Regions from separate parts of the Homo sapiens genome. Here regions 1 and 2 are each linked to region 3. The links are contacts of gene promoters, found by promoter capture Hi-C in human tissues and cell types (Jung and others, 2019). All regions are on one chromosome and are shown on one strand. Each heading gives the region's core, a stretch centred on a gene start or on the middle of the fragment in contact. The rest is flanking DNA. Distances are from core to core; before and after follow the strand shown. Region 1 holds the start of TEKT1 (tektin 1). Region 2 has its middle 19 kb from the start of TEKT1. Region 3 holds the start of ASGR2 (asialoglycoprotein receptor 2).

Region 1 (3,762 bases), core at 988-3,487, 280 kb after region 3:
TTCATATACTACTCTGAAAATGACATCAAAATTTAATTTTCTTCATACTTATAACTTTCTTCTGTAGGTTTTTTATTTATTTTTATTTTTTTAGATACACGGTCTCACCATGTTGCCCAATCTGGTCTTGAACTTCTGAGCTCAAGCAATCCTCCCGCCTTGGCCTCCCAAAGTGCCAAGATTACAGGTGTGAGCCACCATGCCCAGCCCTTGTGCAGCTTTTAACTTTTCTCAGAATTTGTATTTGTCTATTTTTAACTTATAAAAATTAAAAAATATTTTAATAGGGGTCTGTGTCACCCAGGTTGGAGTGCAATGGTGTGATCATAGCTCACTGCAGTCTCAAACTCCTGAGCTCAAGCCATACCTCCCAGGCATTCCAAGTGATGGCACCTCAGGCATGCATCACGGAGACTGTCATCATTTATCTACTTTTTATTGCTCAGAAGAGACATAATTTCAACTCACCATGTGGTTATACTTCTGGGTTATGAATCATAGTTTGTATAACTCTTCTTAAAGATATTGTTCAAAACTTCTTTTGACTTTTAGTTGTAATTTGGACTCATTGCTTTTTAGTTCGGTAGCTATTACACCGAGCTTTCTTTTCATCACACAGCTGGGTTGGTTCCACTATGTCTTATGTCCAGTATCTTCTTCTTTCTGGATTTTTCACTTTTGCTCTATTATTTTTTTCCATAAAGAATGTACGCTCACCGTTTTGAGTACTGGCATGTCCAAAGAAATCTTTTATTTTGCTCTCATACATGAAATGCTTTGACTGGTTGTAGAATCCCAGATTTGAAATAATTTTCTATAGAATTTGAAGGCATTATCCTAGCATCATTTCTAGCAACCATCATTTCTAGCCACCTGTGTTAGAGACGAAACACTTGATACCTATTCTTTCTTTTTCTTCTTATTCTTTGAATTAAGAAATTCCACCAGAATAGGTATAAAGTTGGCCCTTCCTATCCGTGGATTCTACATCCTTGGATGCGATGACACACAAATAAAAAATATTCAGGAAAAAAATTCCACAAAGCTCCAAAAAGCAAAACTTGAATTTGTTGCACCCTGAGTGCTATGTTGAATCCATGCGAATGAAGCGATGAGTAGGCATGGTTAGACATTGTATTAGGTATTGTATTAGGCATTGTATTAGGTATTATATTAGGTATTAGGTGTTGTATTATGTATTGTATTATGTATTGCATTAGGCACTGTATTAGGCACTATATTAGGTATTGTATTAGGCATTGTATTAGGTATTGTAGCAATCTAGAGATGACGTAAAGTATGCCTATCTAGGGATGTGCGTAGGTTATATACAAATGCTACACCACTTTATATGAGACTTGAGAATCTGCAGATTTCAGTATCTGAGGGGGATCCTGGAGCTAATCACTCTATGGATTATATGCATAATCCACAGGGAGGACTATATGTAAGGAATGGGGGTGTGTGTTAATTTCAGGTGGGTCGTTAATCTAAAGACTTGAGTCTTTGGCTCAAGTTATCTCTCTCTCACTTTCACAATTGTTTTGCCATTCTCTCTCTTTTTTTCTTTCCTTCTGGAAGTCCTACTTGACAAATATTAAATCTTCTGGAGCTATCCCCTCAGATTTAATTTTTCTCCCATATTTTCCATCTCCTAGTGGATGCAGAGTGACTTCTGGAGTGTTTGCCTGAAGGCGTTCTACTCACACACCTGCCCTCACAGAGTGCCCCATCGGGCGCCCCACGCAGAAATAAGCCAGTTGTGGTAACAGACCTATACAAACTCTGGAGGAAACTCATTGTAGCTTACAGAAACAATCAACTTGGCTTCCTGATTTTTAACCCTCAATTTCGCCTGCGACTGCGAGGTCCTGGAGGCATCGCCCAGCCCAACCCCACTGTACAGCCGGGAAGTCTGAGAGCCGGGGTACAGCGCGACCCGAGATGATCCCGCCCGCGGGAGGGCTCGGACTAGACGCAGGTCTCCTGACTCCCAGCTCGGGGCTTTGGCCGCTGTCTTCTGCTTGGTGCCCCGCGTCTTCGCGGTAGGTTGAGGTGGCCGGAGCATCTGGCCCTACCCTTCCCACACGCCACACTCCTGGGTCTCTGGCTCTGGGGTCCGCAGAATTTGCGCCTGCGCTAAGCCTTTGGCCAGGCTGCTCAGTGGCGGAACCAGCCCTCTTTGCCCTGGCAACGCGTCACTTGTTGTCATGGAGACCGCGTTGTTTACCTCTCTGTTCTGCAAGAGCTGGAAGCTCCAGTTGGGGTAAGGAGGCTCCCATCCCGAGCTTGCGTAGTGGTTCTGTGTGGCGCTGAGGTAAGTAAACCATGACCCCACCCCACCGACCCCTACCCGCAACCCTCCCCGCCTAACCAAATCCTTATGACGTTGGGATGAGCCCTAATTTAGGTCCCCACCTCTCTGGGGGCTATTCAGACTTATCCAGGAGCCTTGGGTTAAATGCTGGGCTCCACACTCAGATAAATTCGGTAGAAGCCATAAAAGGGACTGGGCTAGGAAGAAACGGAGAAACTCCATGTTGTCTGAGGGGGCTGGGTGGGCTGAGGTTCTCAGCCTAGTCAAGATCTGACTCTAGTTTCATCCTTATATATGTGAAGGCTTCAGAGATCCAGAGGCCCCTAAGAGCAGGGACTCAGACCTTAGGGTAGAGATGGGAGTGGGGGCAGATTTCAGCCCTGTCTGAGGAAGGCAGTTCTCATGGTCCATCAGAGTTGTATGAAGATGAAATGGGTAATTTTAGCGTTTCCACTGCCGACAGCCTCTGCCAGCTGGCTTCCCCTGTGTTGTTCCCCTTCCTGTTCTCTCCTTTTCTTTGTCCTGGAAGTTTTCAGATTCTTTTATGTGTTGAACAAGTTCAATACCCAGTTGTCAGTTTACACATGTTACATTTCCTCCTCCTCCTCCTCCTCCTCCTCCTTCTTCTTCCTCTTCTTTTTCTTCTTCTTTTTTTAAGAAAACATCTCTGGGCTCATCTGTTTGGCAGAACATTACTCCATGACCCAACAATTCTAATGAGTTATAAAAATGCATACACGTGTTCACCAAAAGACATGTATGAGACTATTAATAGCATTCTCATTATGGCCCTGGAGTGTAAACAACCCAAATATCCATAAACAGTAGAAAAGACAGCTAGATTTTATTCATATAACGGCACCTACACAGCAACGAGAACGAACAAACTGCAATCATATAGACAATATGGATGAATTTTACAAACATAATGTTGAGCTAAAGAAGTCAGAGACAGAATAATACATACTGTATTATTCCATTTATGTTAAATTCAAAAACAGCAAAACGAATTTGTAGTGTTAAAAGTCAGGATACTGGTTACCCTGAGGGGCTTGAGGTGGAGTAACTGGGAGGAGGTTAGAGATGCTGGTAATGCTTGTTTCTTGGTTTGGGTGCCGGCTACACAGATAGATTTATTTTGTGTACAGATTATGATTTATGCAATTTTCCGTATATATGTCATCCTTGAATAAAAATTATCATAAAAAAGGACAAATTGCTTTCATTTAATCTAAAAGAGTCTGCTTTTGATCAGGAATTTGGAAACCTCAAATGGCTAAACTATTACAACCTCCACCCAAGTTCCTGCCCTCAGAGTGGCACATTGCTAACAAGAACCAGTACCACAGAGCAGACGCTCAAAGGTCCCGATCAGAACGCCTGGTCGCAGAAAGCCAGAGGCTTGTGGATGAAATTGAAAAGACCACAAGAAAATCTCAAAGCGA
Region 2 (3,696 bases), core at 686-3,185, 260 kb after region 3:
ACTAAAAATACAAAAAAATTAGCCGGGCGTGGTGGCGGGCGCGCCTGTAATCCCAGCCACCTGGGAGGCTGAGGCAGGAGAATGGCGTGAACCCGGGAGGCGGAGCTTGTGGTGAGTAGAGATCTCGCAGCTGCACTCCAGCCTGGGCGACAGATCGAGACTCCAACTCGAAAAAAAAAAAAAAAAAAATTCTGAATTGCCCCAGAGAAAATATCTCCAAATATCAATATCTGGGGATGCCCCAATAATCACCACCAGACTACTCAGAAAAATTTACAAGCACCACTTGTACACATAGAGCTTCAGGTCTTTCTTTTTATAGCCAGTATTTTCCTGAGGATAGTTCTTGCTCTTGGTCCTTTACTAGTTGTTAACTTGAAACACTGTGAACATTTTCAATGAGCAAAGGCAATCTTTATTTCAGGAATAGTGTTTCTAAGTTTTCTGTGGATATATAGTGCCATTTGTTCTATCTTTCCTGGAGTATACTTTGCAGATGACTCTCAAATCTGTGTGTCTAGCATGGACCTTTCCCTCAGCCCTGCACATTCACACACAACATCTTTTTCTTGAGGTACCTCCAGCTAGTGAAATGCAAATTAAAAAAAAAAAATTAGTCACTGCTCTCCCTCTGACCCCTCATTATTACTGTCACCATATCATTTTCCTCATCTACACTGGTGTTTTGGGTAATATTATTCCCCTAGACATTCATCCTACAAATTTTCAGTCAATTCTGATTCTTCTAACTCTTCTTCATCCTTCCCTCACCACCAAGCCACTGATTCAGCGTTTATTGAATTCCCCACAGCTGTCTTTTCCTTGCCCTTCCCACTCACCTTTCCCTCATTATCATCTCCTATTTGGACTGCTGATGTACTGTCAGAATTGGCCTTCTCACTCCACTACTTTTCTTCAATCTTCAAACTTCTGCCAAGTTAATCTTTCAGATGACCAGCTCTGATCATCATCCTCCCATATCAGAAATCAACATTGGCTCCCTGCCATCACTGCAACCTAAAAATAAACAACAAACAAACAAACACCTTTCCAAATGCAGTGCATAGATTAATCTTCCTATACCTCCTTTTTAATGACAAAAAGTAATACATTTCTGGGAAGACAGTTTCAGTGGAGGCAGCATAGAATTTGGATCTTCCTGGATATCCACATAAAAACAGACAGAACTAGATAGCAAAATCAAATACTCATGAATCACATTTACAAAAAGCTAGACAAGTAATCCCTGCAAACTCCAAAACAGGACAAACCACCAACAGCCATAAGACCTATGTGTTATCCACATCTCACCTGTGCAAGAGAACTTGGAAGAAAACAACAGGACATATGACAAACCTGAAAATGGTAAAATTGTAGTAGGCCAATTTGGGAACAACAGCTGGAACTAGGAGGGAACATGCCCATTTGTTTTAGGCCATTCTCGCACTGCTGTAAAGAAATACCTGAGACTGGCTCATTTACAAGAAAAGAGGTTTAATTGGCTCATGGTTCTACCGGCTGTACAGGAAACATAGTGGCTTCTGCCTCTGGGAAGGCCTCAGGAAGCTTCCAATCATGGAAAAAGGCAAAGGGGGAGCAGGCACATCATATCCTGAAGGCAGGAGCAAGGAAGAGGGGGAGAAGGTGCCTGATATGGTTCGGATCTGTGTCCCCACCTAAATCTTGTGTCAAGTTGTAATTTTCAAATGTCAGAAATGGGACCTGGTTGGAGGTGATTGGCTCATGCGGGTGGATCCTTCGTGAATGGTTTAGCACTATCCGTTGGTACTGTTCTTATGATAGAGTTCTCATGAGATCTGGTTGCTTTAAAGTGTGTGGCACCTCTCCCCTCTCTCTCTCTTCCTCTGGCTCCAGCCATGTGGCTCTCCCTCCACCTTCCATCATGATTTTGTTTCCTGAGGCCTCCCAGAAGCCAAGTAGATGCCAGCATCATACTTCCTGTTCAGCCTGTGGAACCATGAGCCAATTAAATATTTTTTCTTTATAAATTACCCAGTCTCAGGTATTTCTTTATAGCAATGCAAGAACAGACTAAAACAGTGTCGCATACTTTTAAACGACCAGATGTCAGGAGAAGTCACCCACTAGCGCGAGAACAGCACCAAGGAGATGGTGATAAACCATTCATGAGAAATCTCCTCGACAATCCAGTCACCTCCCACCAGGCCCTACCTCCAACAATAGGGATTATAGTTTGATATGATATTTAGAGGGGACACAGATCCAAAGCCTATCACCACTGTAATAGCAAGTAGGTGCCAGGCACAGTTGATAAGATCTAAGGACCTACGGGAACTCCTGAAACTGGTCAGCCAAGGCTGTCTTCCAGGATGGAGCGGAACACTTCAGAGAAACCCTTGGAAAAACTCAACTGAAATAAATGAAAGAAAAGATCCAGAAAAGCACAGGGTGGGGAAACAAAGCCAGGAAATCTCCAAAAGCAGGCCATCATGTTTTTGAACATTACAAGAACAAAAATGGATGGGGATCCAAGAAGTTAGATGTGTTATCTGAACAAGCTTCTTTTTATTAACATGGAAAACAAAATTCACATAAAAATGGCAGTAGAAAAGTAGTGAAGTCAAATCCCATACAAAGTTACTATAAGAAAAGAGACAATAAAGGGCAAAATAATATCATTACACAAAACAAAAGCACAACGGAAAGATGAACAAAAACCAAAGCAAAGGATCAGAAAGAATACTAAAAGCTGTAATTCAAGAAAATGAGGGGGAACTTGGCAAGATAGCCAAATAGGAACAGCTCCGGTCTGCGGCTCCCAGCGAGACCTATGAGGAAGATGGGTGATTTTTGCATTTCCAACTGAGGTACCCAGTTCATCTCATTGGGACTGGTTAGACAGTGGGTGCAGCTCACGAAGGGTGAGCAGAAGCAGGGTGGGGCGTCGTCTCACCTGGGAAGTGCAAGGGGTCAGGAACTCCCTCCCGTAGCCAAGGGAAGCCATGAGGGACTGTGCCATGAAGGACTGTACTATTCAGCCCAGATACTATGCTTTTCCCACGGTTTTTGCAACCAGCAGACCAGGAGATTCTCTCAGGTGCCTACACCACAAGGGCCCTGGGTTTCAAGCATAAAAGTGGGTGGCCATTTGGGCAGACACTGAGCTAGCTGCAGGAGTTTTTTGTTGTTGTTGTTGTACCCCAGTGGCACCTGGAACCCCAGTGAGACAGAACCTTTCACTCCCCTGGAAAGGGGGCTGAAGCAAGGGAGCCAAGGTGGTCTTGCTCAGCGAGTCCCACCCCCCTGGAGACCAGCAAGCTAAGATCCACTGGCTTGAAACTCTTGCTGCCAGCACAGCAGTCTGAAGTCAACCTGAGATGCTCGAGCTTGGTATGGGGAGGGGCATCTGCCATTACTGAGGCTTGAGTAGGCGGTTTTCCCCTCACAGTGTAAACAAAGCCACCAGGAAGTTTGGACTGGGCAGAGCCCGCCACAGTGCAACAAAGCCGCTGTAGCCAGACTGCCTCTCTAGTTTCCTCCTCTCTGGGCAGGGCATCACTGAAAGAAAGGCAGCAGCTCCAGTCAGGGGCTTATAGATAAAACTCCCATCTCCCTGGGACAGAGCACCTTGGGGAAGGGGCAGCTGTGGGCACAGCTTTAGCAGACTTAAATGTTCCTGCCTGCCGGCTCTGAAGAGACCAGTGAATCTCCCAG
Region 3 (3,770 bases), core at 1,194-3,693:
TAGCTCAGACCTCTGAGGAAGACCTAGTGTCATGAAGTAAGGAATATGACCAATCTAACCTTTGTGTCTGAGGTACAAATAAACCCCAAATCAAAATCAACCAAATAAGGCCGGGCGCGATGGCTCACGCCTATAATCCCAGCACTTTGGGAGTTTGAGATGGGCGGATCACCTGAGGTCAGGAGTTCAAGACCAGCCTGGCCAACATGGTGAAAATACAAATAATTAGCCGGGCGTGGTGGTGCATGCCTGTAATCCCAGCTACTCAGGAGGCTGAGGCAGGAGAATCACTTGAACCCGGGAGGTGGAGGTTGCAGTGAGCTGAGATCGCGCCATTGCATTCCAGCCTGGGTGACAAGAGTGAAACTCTGTCTCAAAAAAAAAAAAAAAAAAAATCAATCAAAGAAAATAGGATTCCATAACCCAAAACAGAAAACCTCCAACAATATGGAAACTTCAGAAATAGTCCAAGTACATGTTAACTTCTAAGTTAAAATGATTTTCAAATAGGGAGAAAGAGAAGGACGCAGATGAGTCTGGCTTTCTCTGTCCCTTCTCTCCCTGTAGTGCCGTGAGTGGGGGTGTAAGTGACAAGCCCTGAAACGTGGAATTGGTTCAGTCAAAGGGGTGGCCAATGAGGATGGCCCCATCCCTGGTTGGCAGTTGGCAAAGCTTGACATGCAGTAGACAATCCATCTGTGAAGCTCTTACCTGTATCTCAGGACTAAATCCACATGCCCCTTAAGATGGGGGCTTCACAGCAGTGTTGTTCAGACTTTGAGTTGTGACCCATTAATGGACTGGGAAACTCAACAGAAGGCACGTAGTAAGGTGAGCATTGTCCCATCAAACTTTAGTGTCAACCGTGTATTTCCAAACGCATTATTCTATTCACTCACTCACTCAGTAGATACTTGTTGAGCAGCTACTGTGTGGCAGGCACTGGGGATCCAGGAGAAAGTAACACATACAAATGCACCTGTGTGTGCGGGTGCTTGTGTGTATGTTCTGGATCACAGCATGAAATTCGTCTCTCGCTGTGGGCTGCAGTCAGAGAGCCCAGCGGCTGCTGCTGCCTGGTGGCTGGGTGGGAATGTCAGGGTACTGGGGGGGTGGCTACTTCCCATGTGGGTCAGCAAGTTACAAGAACAGAAAAGGCCTCTGTTTGAATTCCTTTTCGGCACCCGGGGAAACGAGCAGCTTTATAAGAAACCCTGCCCGTAGCCATCCGCCCAAGTTTGGTGAGGGTCAGAAAATCATGCACAAAAACTGTGTTTTCTTTCCCGAGCTATTGTTAGCGCAAGTGTAGACAGTCAGCCACGTTCCTTGCTTCATGGAAGCCAGTCTTCCTCGTAGGACCATGAAGACCTTTTCTTTTCTTTTTCTTTCTTTCTTTTTTTTTTCTTTGAGATGGAGTTTCTCTCTTGTTGCCCAGGCTGGAGTGCAATGGCGCAATCTTGGCTAATGCAACCTCCGCCTCCCAGGTTCAATCGATTCTCCTGCCTCAGCGTCCTGAGTAGCTGGGATTACAGGCCCCTGCCACCACGCCCGGCTAATTTTTGTATTTTAGTAGAGACAGAGTTTCACCATGTTGGCCAGGCTGGTCTCGAACTCCTGACCTCAGGTGATCCACCCACGTCGGCTTCCCAAAATGCTGGGATTACAGGCGTGAGCCACCGTGCCCGGCCAGACCTTTTGTTATGATGTTATTTTCCCCTCTTTACTCCATTTTGCTTTGCCAGTTTCTCTACTCACCTGGGCCACCACCTAGAGCAAGTTGCCTCATCTCTCCGAGGCTCCGCTTCCGAACCCTGTGAAATGGGAGTAACAGAAGTCCTGCCTCGTGGGGGTGTTGTGCTGTGATAAATGAAGAAACACCTTGGAGAATTTAGGGCAGTGGCTGGGCCTGAGGACAGTGTTTGTGTTGCCTGGGCTGGGGCAGGGTCTGGGCCGGACGGGGCTCTCTGAGGTTGGATTCCTCCTGCGAGGAGAGCTGTTTTTCTGCAAAGCCCCTTCCTCCTCCTGCTGAAGCTTCTGGATTTGAGAGGCTTTACTCTCCAGGAGAGTGAAGCGAGTTGGGCCAGAGCTGAGAGTCTGGTGGCCGAGCCCACAGGAAGCTGGGGTCTGTGGTTCAGATGCCGGATTGGGCAAGAGTAGAGAACTGGTCGCTGTGATCCTGGTCAGGGATATTTGGAGACACCCACAGTTCTGGTAAATTCGGAGGCAGGAAGTGAGAGGGGGAGGGAGAGAGGGAAACGGCAAACTGCACCCCAGCCCCTCCTGGCCTGGCACCCCTTCCAAATGGTGCAATGAGTGGGGTGAGTGGCGTGTGGAGTTGAGCGCAGCCCAGGGGACCCCCCTCTCTGGGAATAAGAACAGAGATAGCCCCGTCCCCTGCCCCCACCCCACAAATGAGTTACAGCTCTGTTTCCTCTTCTGTTTACTGTCCAAAGTCCCAGGCCAGGAGGTGCCAGGTTAGAGCTTGGACACTCAGACCCTCCAGTGCAGGCCTTGCCCGGACCAGCCCCTCCTCCACTCTCCTCTCCCCTGTGAGCTCCACCTGCCCCAGTTCTCCTGGCTTTAACCCCTCCTTGGCCAAGGCCAGGGTTGCCTGCGGGAGCCAGGTGTCCGCTCTCCACACCTTTCACAGGTAACTGAGGCTGGGGAGGCAACTGGGACGAGGATGCTTGGGAACAAGGAGGCCTTGGTTCAGGGATGGGGAGGACCCCATGGGAAGCTGTGGGTGGTCGGGTCCATGAGCGTGGGGAGGGGTCTCCTGGCCAGGTCAAGGCCCAAGCGGTCTCCTGAGAAGGGAAAGGACCCAGCGGGATTTCAAACCTCATCCCAAACGCCCTGCCAACCTCAGATCCTACCCAGGCCACCACCCCGAACCCCTCCGACCCTGCGTTCCATCCCACCATCAACCTCCACGTGAATCTGCACCTCTGCCCCAGCCCCAGCCCTCAGAGCAACCTCAGCCCAGCCCAGCCCAGCTCCAGCTCCAGCTCCAGCCCGGGCCCCATCATGGCCAAGGACTTTCAAGATATCCAGCAGCTGAGCTCGGAGGAAAATGACCATCCTTTCCATCAAGGTGAGGGGCCAGGCACTCGCAGGCTGAATCCCAGGAGAGGAAATCCATTTTTGAAAGGCAAGTGTGCAGTTTCTGCGGCTTTGCTCCCCCTCTGTCTCAGCTCATGATTGCTCTGTCCCTTTGAGGTCTCTGCCGCACCCACTCTGTGAACAGGGACTGAGGAGGGCCCGACACCCCCGCTTGTTCCCTCACCTCACCTTCCTGTCTACCCCAGGACCCCAGGAAAGGCATGTGCCAGAGGTGTGGGGAGATCTGGAAGATAACTGCCTGCCCTTCTCCTCCCAACCCAAGAACACATGTGCCTCGTATGTGCGTGTGCACGTATGTGCATATGAGGAATGCAGATTCAGCTGGGACTCTGTGTGTGTGTGTGAGTGAATGTTGTGTGTGTGTATATGTGCGCGAGAGCGTGCATATGTTGTGTGTGTGTATGTCGTGTATGTGAGAGGGTATGTTGTGTGTGAGAGTGTGTTGTGTGTGTATGTTGTGTGAGTATATGTTGTGTGTATCTTGTGTGTGAGTGTATGTTGTGTGTTGTGTGTGTATCTTGTGCATGTGTGTATGTTGTGCGAGTGTATGTTGTGTATGTGAGTGTGTGTATGTTGTGTGTATGTTGTGTGTATGTATGTTGTGTATGAGTGTGTGTATGTTGTGTGTGTGTACGTTGTGTATGTTGTGT

The links. Contacts are between HindIII fragments. The study calls those that stand out against the background at their distance.
Region 1: the fragment with the promoter of TEKT1 here is called in contact with the fragment with the promoter of ASGR2 in region 3 in 1 of the 25 tissues and cell types used here (stomach).
Region 2: a fragment that was not itself captured here is called in contact with the fragment with the promoter of ASGR2 in region 3 in 2 of the 25 tissues and cell types used here (adrenal gland and spleen).

The regions. Positions count from the first base shown.
Region 1 is chr17:6,830,204-6,833,965 of GRCh38, reverse strand. TEKT1 (tektin 1) reads left to right here and starts at 2,237. Exons shown (of 8, transcript NM_053285.2): 1 at 2,237-2,317; 2 at 3,573-3,762. The coding sequence starts at 3,590. RefSeq lists a silencer at 2,225-2,274. The HindIII fragment of the contact is 13,856 bases long and covers 1-3,762 here.
Region 2 is chr17:6,848,723-6,852,418 of GRCh38, reverse strand. No RefSeq gene overlaps it. Among named protein-coding and RNA genes, the nearest start is that of TEKT1, 19 kb to the right of the region's middle. The HindIII fragment of the contact is 4,954 bases long and covers 1-3,696 here.
Region 3 is chr17:7,113,495-7,117,264 of GRCh38, reverse strand. It overlaps ASGR2 (asialoglycoprotein receptor 2), which reads left to right and starts at 2,443. Exons shown (of 9, transcript NM_001201352.2): 1 at 2,443-2,650; 2 at 2,955-3,148. The coding sequence starts at 3,025. RefSeq lists an enhancer at 1,505-2,291. The HindIII fragment of the contact is 7,513 bases long and covers 1-3,770 here.